Regions from separate parts of the Homo sapiens genome. Here region 1 is linked to region 2. Evidence: promoter capture Hi-C in human tissues and cell types (Jung and others, 2019). All regions are on one chromosome and are shown on one strand. Each heading gives the region's core, a stretch centred on a gene start or on the middle of the fragment in contact. The rest is flanking DNA. Distances are from core to core; before and after follow the strand shown. Region 1 overlaps ADGB (androglobin). Region 2 holds the start of ADGB (androglobin).

What was found. The method cuts DNA at HindIII sites, captures the fragments that hold promoters and counts their contacts. A contact is called where the count stands out against the background at its distance.
Region 1: a fragment that was not itself captured here is called in contact with the fragment with the promoter of ADGB in region 2 in 4 of the 25 tissues and cell types used here (bladder, dorsolateral prefrontal cortex, mesenchymal stem cells and 1 more).

The regions. Positions count from the first base shown.
Region 1 is chr6:146,661,003-146,665,475 of GRCh38, reverse strand. ADGB (androglobin) reads right to left here. Exons shown (of 36, transcript NM_024694.4): 6 at 1,136-1,275. Among named protein-coding and RNA genes, the nearest start is that of ADGB, 64 kb to the right of the region's middle. The HindIII fragment of the contact is 5,946 bases long and covers 1-4,223 here.
Region 2 is chr6:146,595,850-146,600,389 of GRCh38, reverse strand. ADGB (androglobin) reads right to left here and starts at 1,418. Exons shown (of 36, transcript NM_024694.4): 1 at 1,276-1,418. The coding sequence starts at 1,349. It overlaps ADGB-DT (ADGB divergent transcript), which reads left to right and starts at 1,459. Exons shown (of 3, transcript NR_125860.1): 1 at 1,459-1,557; 2 at 2,219-2,320; 3 at 3,886-4,540. RefSeq lists a silencer at 1,323-1,617. The HindIII fragment of the contact is 7,954 bases long and covers 1-4,540 here.

The DNA of each region.
Region 1 (4,473 bases), core at 1-2,500, 65 kb before region 2:
TGCCACCGGTATGAATACTTAGTGCTATTCAGCTACCTACAAAGATCTGGGCTGAGTTTTTATGAAAATCATTGCAATTAAGTGCTAAAAGCTGGGTGAAACTAATTCCCAAAGGAAAACTGAGGGCTGGTAAGGAAAAAACAGATATGAAGAGGATGGCAGTAGGAGTGGTTGTTTTTGTTTTGTAGCCTTGGGAGAGAAAAATGAAGCTGTGCCTAAAGAAAATCCACACAAAGCAGGCCTGACTTCTGACTAACATTGCAATGTTTATAGAAGGGGAGGGGGCTGAGCTGTGAGCAAATCTCTAACATGTACTGTTAAAGCATGTGGGTGTGTCCTGTTAAATATCGAGAATCTTTGACAAACTGCAGGAGGTGGACGTGTATAAAATCCCAGCCTGTGCAATGTATGTGAGCATCTTCCAGTGAGCAATGAGGCAAAATTGCCATGCATTTCCAACACGATCATCAAAGATTTTTTGCATTGTTAGGGCCAGGATGGTATGACTCCTTTTCTCTGGAAGTGTAAGCTGAGGGAATAGCACATAGCAGATGTGTCTCATATATGTTGGTGCACAAGTCAGGCAGGAATATAAGACAGAAACCAATTTTGTAAGAATACTGAAGAAAATATGAGTAGTTTTCATCATGAATGTATCAAAAGTGAGCAATGTTACCAAAATCATGAAGCGTACATTGACATCTTTCAGAAAAGTTCAGGTTTTTCAAGATTAGTAAATTATTGCTGCATATACAGAACCTAAATCTTTAACTAGATTTCAGGATATATTATTCAGTATTTAGATGAACCAATATTTTTCTCCCACAAAACAATTTTTTCTCCTATTAAACAAAACATCATTTTCCATGATCAAATTTCCATTCATAGTAAGACAGCACTGAACATAGAATAATTCTTGGGTATATTTTTCTTGGAGGAATTTTGCATTATTGTTAACCTAATAGAAAAAATCAGTGGTTTTGGCGTATTTGATTTTATACTAGAGCATTACATTGTTTAGGGGAAAAAGCTGTCTTTTAGCTAATTTTAAAAAAATAAATTATGCAATACAAATGTATAGTTAATGTTTTTGTTTGCTTTTTTTATTCATGTGAGTGATAGTGTCATTACATACTCAATATTTGCCAGCTTGATAATAGCTTTAGACAAAAGCATTGGCCACAGTTCAAATTCATAAGTTGTAGCTGGAAGCAATAGATTGTTATCTTCATCAAAAGGCAAAAAGTCATCAATTGTTATCTTTCTCCAGCAACCCTAAAAATAAGATGAAAGAAATGTAATACCATCAATGGCTTACAGTCTTTTCTCTCGTAAATGATTGCACGTGGCTGACATTACTATTTACCGTTTTCCAATTTTATTTTAGCATCTTACACTGAAAGACGGAGATACTGGATTTCAATACTACTCTGGTTGAATATGTTAGCTTATTGCTTTATTTAGCATAATCACAGCTCACCCATGTCTATATCAATATTGTCTTTACTTATGAGGTCTTGTGAACAAAGTCTTGGGAGTCCCTTACTGCATAATGCAGGAAATTGAGGTGTTTCAAGGACCAGAACCAAAACATTATACAACCATGGATAAGCTTGGACATAATCAAATAACTTAACATAGTCAAAATACAAATTCTCCAAATATAACTTTAGTAATTATTGCTTATCTTGATGTATCCTCACTGATCTTACACTTCCAATTCTCATATTATTCCTGCTCCTAATTAATTTCTTGATCAACAAGAAACCACAGAGAAATAAGCCAGATGCAAAAGGATAAATACTGTATGATTACTGAACATGTATATCTATATTGAACATATCTATCCTGAACATATAAAAAATACGTTTGCGTGCATGTGTCTATGTGTGTATACATACAGAATGTTTCTCCCCAAAATTCATGTGTTGAAATCCTAATGCCCAAAGTGATAGAATTAGGTAAAAAGGAGGGTAAAGCCCTCATGAATGGGATTTGTGCCCTTTTAAGAAGTTGAAGAAACCAAAGTTTTTCTCTTCCACCATGGAATTTTATGGCAAGAAAATGGCCAGCCATTTATGAACCAGGGAGCAGGGCTTTGCCAGACACCAAATCTACCAGTGCCTTGATCTCACACTTCCCAGCCTCCAGAAATATAAAAAATAAATTCTTGCTGTTTATAAGTCACCAGTCTATAGTATTCTGGTATAGTAGCCTTAGTTGTTACAAGACTAATATTATTAAGGTTATATATACTTATATATATATAAAAAACCTTAATATTATTATATATAATATATAATATATAATAAATATATATTATATATTTATAATTATATATATAATTATATATTTATTATATTTATACTATAATTACATATTTATATAATTATATAAATATATGACCTTAATAATAAGATTATTTTGATCTATATTATTAAGATTATATAAAATTATGAAGATATATATTATTAAGATTAAGATATATATTATATACATTATAACATATATATTTATATGTGTAATATATAACATTATTAAGTTATATATATATTATATATAAGAAGATTGTGGAATGAAGTCTTATTATCTGGGTAGCAAACAAAAGTGGCAGACCAGAATAGTACATCAGAGGCTTTATAAACTAAACTGGCATTTGAGACACAGCCGATAAATGTGAGCCAGGATGTGCCTTCTGAATCTAAACACGTTGACTACTTGCTAAAATATAAAACTAATTAGCAATCAGAGTTGTAAAACATAACACTACAAATATTCAGGAAACTGTATAAAATTACCTATCATACCAAAACCCAGAAAAGTCTCAATTTCAATGGGAAAATACAGTCGACAGGCCACAAAACCAAAATGACAGAGAAATTAGAATTATTAAATAAGAAATTTACAGCAATTCTCACAAAAATGTTCCAACAAGCAATTATGAACACTCTTGAAACAAATTCAAAAATAGAAACTCTCAGCAAAGAAATGGAAGATATAAAGGCATAAAAATAGAAATTTTAAGCTTAAAATTAAACTAAAAAGCAACTCTCAATTGATGAGATCAATAGCAGAATGCAGATAGCATAGAAATTAGTGAACTGGACATTAGATCAATAGAAATTACGAATAACAGGAAAATATAGTATCAACAATCATATAAGGCTCAGGGACCTGTGCGGATAATGCAAAAAGATATAATATTCATGTCATTGTTGCCACTGAAAAAAAGAAGAGAAAGAGAGAGTGGGGCAAAAAATATAGTTGAAGGAATAATGGCTGAAAACTCTCCCAAATTGTCATAAGACATAAACCTACAAACTCAAGGAACTCAGACTAAACCAAATAGGATAAACTTAAAGAATTCTACAGCCAGACAGATCGAATTCCAACTTCTTAAAAGTTAAGACAAAAGAAAAAAGCTTGAAAGCCAGCAGCAAGAAAAGACCTGTTAGAGGGGAAGGACAGATTGCTCACCAGGAGCCAGGGAGGCCAGAAGAATAATTCTGGCTGGCCTGGAGGAAAATTCTGGAAGGCTGGAAAATTAATGGCACACTAAATACCAAATGCTGAAAGAAAATTACTGCTAACCCAGAATCATATCACTAGGGAAAATATTCTTTAGGAATAAGAGTAAAATAAACACATTCTCAGATAAAGGAAAGATAAGATAATTTGTCATCATTAGAGTGTCTCAAAAGGAATTGCGAAAGAAAATTTTTCAGAAATAAAAAGAAAGGAGAATAAAAGGAAAAATGGAACATCAAGAATGAGAAAGCATAAAGGAAAAATTTTACATGCCAGTTAAAATATTTACTTAAAAAATAAAAAATGAACATATGACTAAATGTGGTACTCTTGTCTTCAAATTTTTTATATTGTGTTTGAATTTAAAAGCAAAATTTATGATGAAGTTTTCAATATATACACAGGAAATGTTTAAAAAAACTATATCAGTGGTTGGGTGTGGTGGCTCACACCTGTAATCCCAACACTTTGGGAGGCCGAGACAGGAGGATCACTTGAGGTCAGGAATTCAAGACCAGCCTGCACAACATAGTGAGACCCTGTCTCTACAAAAAATAAAATTAGTCAGGCGTGATGATGGCATACCTGTAGTGCTAGCTACTTGGGAGGCTGAGGCAGGAGGATCACTGGATCCCAGGAGTGGAGGCTGCAGTGAGCTATAATTGTGCCACTACACTCCAGCCTGAGCGACAGAGTCAGACCCTATCTCCAAAAAAAAAAAAAAAAAGAAAAAAAGAAAAAAAAGTAAAGGAAAAAGGAAAAGAAAGCTATATTAGAAAAGGAGGAATATAAAGAAGACTAAATGGTGGTAAAGTATTTATATTCCAATTCAAGTGGTAAAATCATGATACTAGTTGACTGTGATAAGCTATGCATGTATATTTTAATTCATAAAGTGAAGAGATTTGCTTGAAAGCACTATAGGTCAATCAAAATGGAATCCTA
Region 2 (4,540 bases), core at 169-2,668:
GGTAACTTTAGAGAAGTAATACAGGCCTGATTCTGAAGGGCGTCCTCGGCCTTGGACCTAGAGGAATGGAAGCCATTAGACAACGCTGAAAAGACCTGACTTTGGTACACAGAAGTAAAGCAATCCTATTAAAATTACATATGTAATATTTATATAAAATTATATATGTAATATTACTTATATATGTAATATCTAAAATTTAAGCTAGTAAAAGGAATGGATTATCTGCCGGGTAACTGGAAACCTGCTTATGAGAGAGGTTAGAACTAAGGGACTAGAGATTCACAGACATGGGAATGAGTCTGGGAGAAGAATTCACAAAGAAAAAGAGTTTAAATCCTAGGGATCAGTGAATCATAGGGATCAGTCCAATGTGGAATTCTTCAGCCAGGGAAGGAAATGGAGAAACAGGCATCAAGGATGTAAGAATTCAATTTGAAATGATTGATTGCATCGCCCTCCCCATCAGGCAGAGCATGAAGAACATGAATGATCCCACTGAAGCAGGGCGGGCAGCTGGGATTCTCTCACAGTGGGAATGAACATTAGAAATGGTGTAAGTTCAAACAGCCCCAATCCTATGCTGTGGATAACTGGATATCCCTAGGGAAACAGACCACAGAAAATAATAATCATGGGGAAGTACATCCTAAGACACAACACCTAACACCAGCCCAGGACAAAGGCACCATAAAAATTCCATGAGCGAGGGTCTGTTTACTTTCTCAGAGTAAATGTTAGTAACATGAACTATACATTTATAATGTTTTAAGGTTTAGAAGCCACTTTACGTCTGACTATATCTGATTAAAGATCGTAGTCGTTGGACTGGGCAGATGCAAACTAGAAAATCACCATTAAGGTGAAATGTGTCCATGTCTGTCTGTCACTCGCTGTCTGTATCATTTCCGGGGCCATGAAGATGTGGCTTTAACCAGAAGTATTTGAGATATGCCTCTTTCTTAGGAAAGCTATGGCCTTTCTAACTGCCTGAGAGGGCTATGAAGAAGAGGAGGGGTGGCAGATTCACCCATGGGAGCTGAACACCCAAAGCAAGAAAATCAGGGGCTCTGGGAAAGGAAGTGAGTCAAGACAAGCAAGAGAGAAGGATGAGAGCGAGCACCTCCAGGATCTGGTTTACCAGAGAAGACAAGCTGCGAGGAGGCCACTAAACTTCTGCCCTGGCACAGTTTGCTGCAGGGAGGCAGCCCCAGAACTAGTGGTGAGGTCGAGGGGCTAGGCCAGGGGAGGGACGGACAGGCAGAGGTCCCTTACTCTTTCGATTTATCCGATCCGTGCGCCGAGTTGATACGATGCACCTCTTTCTTTTTGGTTTGTTTGGAGGCCATGGCAGAAGCCGATCTATGTAGGGCTGAGCTCTGAGCAAAGAGCCTGCGGGCGCGCTCGGCTCCGCGTCTGCGTTGCCAGGAGACGGCGTCCCGCGTCCAGCGCCCGGAGAGCGGGGGCGGGGCCCTGGGGGCGGGCTCTGCGGCCTGTGGCTGCAGAGGGACGCAAGAGCATAAACTGAAATCCCACATCCCCGTGGAGGAACTTGGAGTTGGTGTCTGGGGAGAAATCGAGGTTCTGGGGCACGGGTTTGGCATTAGGATTACTGGGCAGCCCTGATTAATTGGAGTTCTGCAGGACCTACACTGCCTGGCTTTGCCCTTCGGAACCATAGACATATATCGACTCTTGAATATCCAACTATTTGAACGTAGATGTTATCCTAGTACCACCCCAGTTATTCTCTTGGCTAAATATAACAAGTACCTTCAATAATTACTAAGGAGACATTACAGACACGCTGAAATTGTCAATGGCTTGAAAACCTGGGGTCCAGAAATTAACACAGTGGGTGTAAGGAAGGCAAAATAATGACACCTTGAGTCGCTGAGGGCTAGGTGATGATATCTGTAATAAAACCAATAAGGTGTCTTGTTGTTCGAATGAAAGAGTGAGTCCAAGTCATGGGCTCAGGTGGTCCTTTGCAGACTTTCCAGAAAAGGTCCAGGGGCCAGATGACACAGACAGAACCAAGTAAAATGAAACTTATTAGGGCGCAGGCTTAAGGCTCAGTCATCAGTGGTGATTTGTTAGTTATCTTGCCTTGGGCTAGTTTTTCCCTTTGAGTCTCAGTTTACTCACTTATAAATAGGAGATGCCTATTACTCACTTATAAATAGGAGTTATACCTAACTCACAGTTCTGTTTTGAGGATAAGATGCAAAGCGCAGCAAATAGGAGCCACTCTTTCAGAGATGACAGACCACCTGGTTTCGAGGAGCAGCAGACAGCGTGAATGAATGAAGTTGGCCAGGTAAATACAGAGTAGTGGATACTATGCTTAACTGAGACATGCTTAGACTGCAAGAGCTTGCAAATTTATCAAAACAAAACAAAATATTGTGTTGGTTCAATATAACCTCACTTCAGAGATATCTGACACACAGCCCTTAGGCCTAGGACCACTACTACTGGTTGGTGTCTTTCATGAGCCTAGAAATAGTTAAGTATCTTTAAATAAAAGAAATCCCCTCCACTCATGGGACTGGGCACATGCTCACAGTTCCACCTGTGCAGGCAAGAGGCAGCTTCCTGCAGAGAAAATCTTTCAACTTCTCTGACAAATGAATGCTCAGGGCTCTCCACTCAGCATAGCCTATGGTTTGTCAGACTATCCCAATCTTATTACTATTGGATTACTACTGGGGGTTACCTAGATGACAGACAGCCCCTTCGTTGTATTTCTATATGCAAAATAAATAAATTCCAAGTCAGCAGTGTTAATATTATGACTACAAGACTGCCCTGCAAACATCTCCTATATATGTAAAGACAATGAACACATCATGAAGATTCTGCTTTGTTTATACCATAATTCAAATTTCCAGAGAACTCTCTTGAATGAAAGTAGAGGACTAAATGGTGAGAAAAATTATTTACTACCAAATTTTGTCAGAGTAATCAAATTTATAGCTATAAGTATATACAAAGACTCTTGGCTGAAAACAGCACAACTTTAAGCAGCCAACCCCACAGAGAGGTGAGTTTCTTCTTGAACAAGGGCTATCCTGCAGCCATTGTTAATGGCTGCAAGATGCCAAAAGAATTAGGGAAGATAAGCCTTAGAAATCAAAAGATCTACATCCCACCGGTATTTTATGGACAAATAACTCCAGGCGAAGACAAGCAAAATGTCTTGCCAAAAGTTGCTGGGTTATTTATTGATGGAATTTGGACTAAACACATTAAAGTCAGCATTGCCAGTTTAAGCCAAACATATCACTACTCCACTCAGAGCTTGCTTTTTAAACATCTATTAAATTAGGATAAAGTAAGGGGGTTGTCACCAGAATGGAATAAGATAATCATAAAAGATGTGACGAGTATAAGTTGCCTATTAATTCCTACGCCAGTGTTCTTTCTCCTTTATTATATTAAGAGTGCAACATGCATAAATGGAATTTCTCTTCTTTCTGGAGCTAAGGTTCTGGTCAGGCTGTAATTATAAGAGCAAATCTGTTCCTCTCTAAGATAGTTCTAGCTACAAAGCTTAACATGATATTTATTGTGGCAGTGCAAAAAAGACAATAGGTCCTACTGCTGTTTTTATTTTTCTTATAACTGTTGTCAATGTCACTTTGGAATAATAATAATAATAGCTGTGATTTATTGAGTACCTACTACATGCAAGGTTTAGGGAAGGGTGCTAACTCCTTTAGAGATAAACTTGAATTTAAATCCTGACTCTTGTTGGGTAATTATGGGTGAGTTATTTAACTTCCATTTTCTTTATTTGTGGAAAGGGAAGAATAATACCTCAAATATGCTTGACTCATCCCAAGCATTCAGAGAATTATAGCTAATGTTATTATTCCACAGGTAAAGAACTGAAATGCAGACAGGAAATGGGACTTGCCTGACATGGAGCAGGTGGTAGGTGGCAGAGGAAGATTGGCCACTCCATAACCTGTGCTCTCTCCAATTCTCTGGACTAACTGTCCATACAGATGATTGCCCTGGGACTGAGCTTAGGGATTTCCAAACTCTTGCTATTTAACAACTGTCAAAGACTGAGAAACAGGGCTTATATTTTATTCAAGCTACCCAGAATAGGGCCTCTCTCTAATCTATACTTCCTTTTCGGGGAAGAGATATTTGGCTTCAGGCAGCAGTAGCGCCTGCTCCCTAGGGAAGTGGTTAGAGGTACCCACTTCCCCATATCAGCAGAAACAAAACAGGCAGGAGTCTCTCTGCTTGAGGATCTGCCTAAATAGGGAAGTGAGAATTGGCAACCACTTCTCCCTCCACCAATGGGAATCCTAGATGGAGGGAACTGGGTGGGAGATGGCAGGGGTGGGCAGAGTGGCAGCATTTCTGTTTCTTAAATCCATAACTCCATCTTCAGACACTTGATTCCACAGCCATAGGGAATTGTATATATTTTGCTGCTCAGCTACCTCTTTGCAATTAGGTCAATTATAAAATTACTTGGAATTTAACCAGCCAAATGAGAAAGTATGCATTCTACATGTTC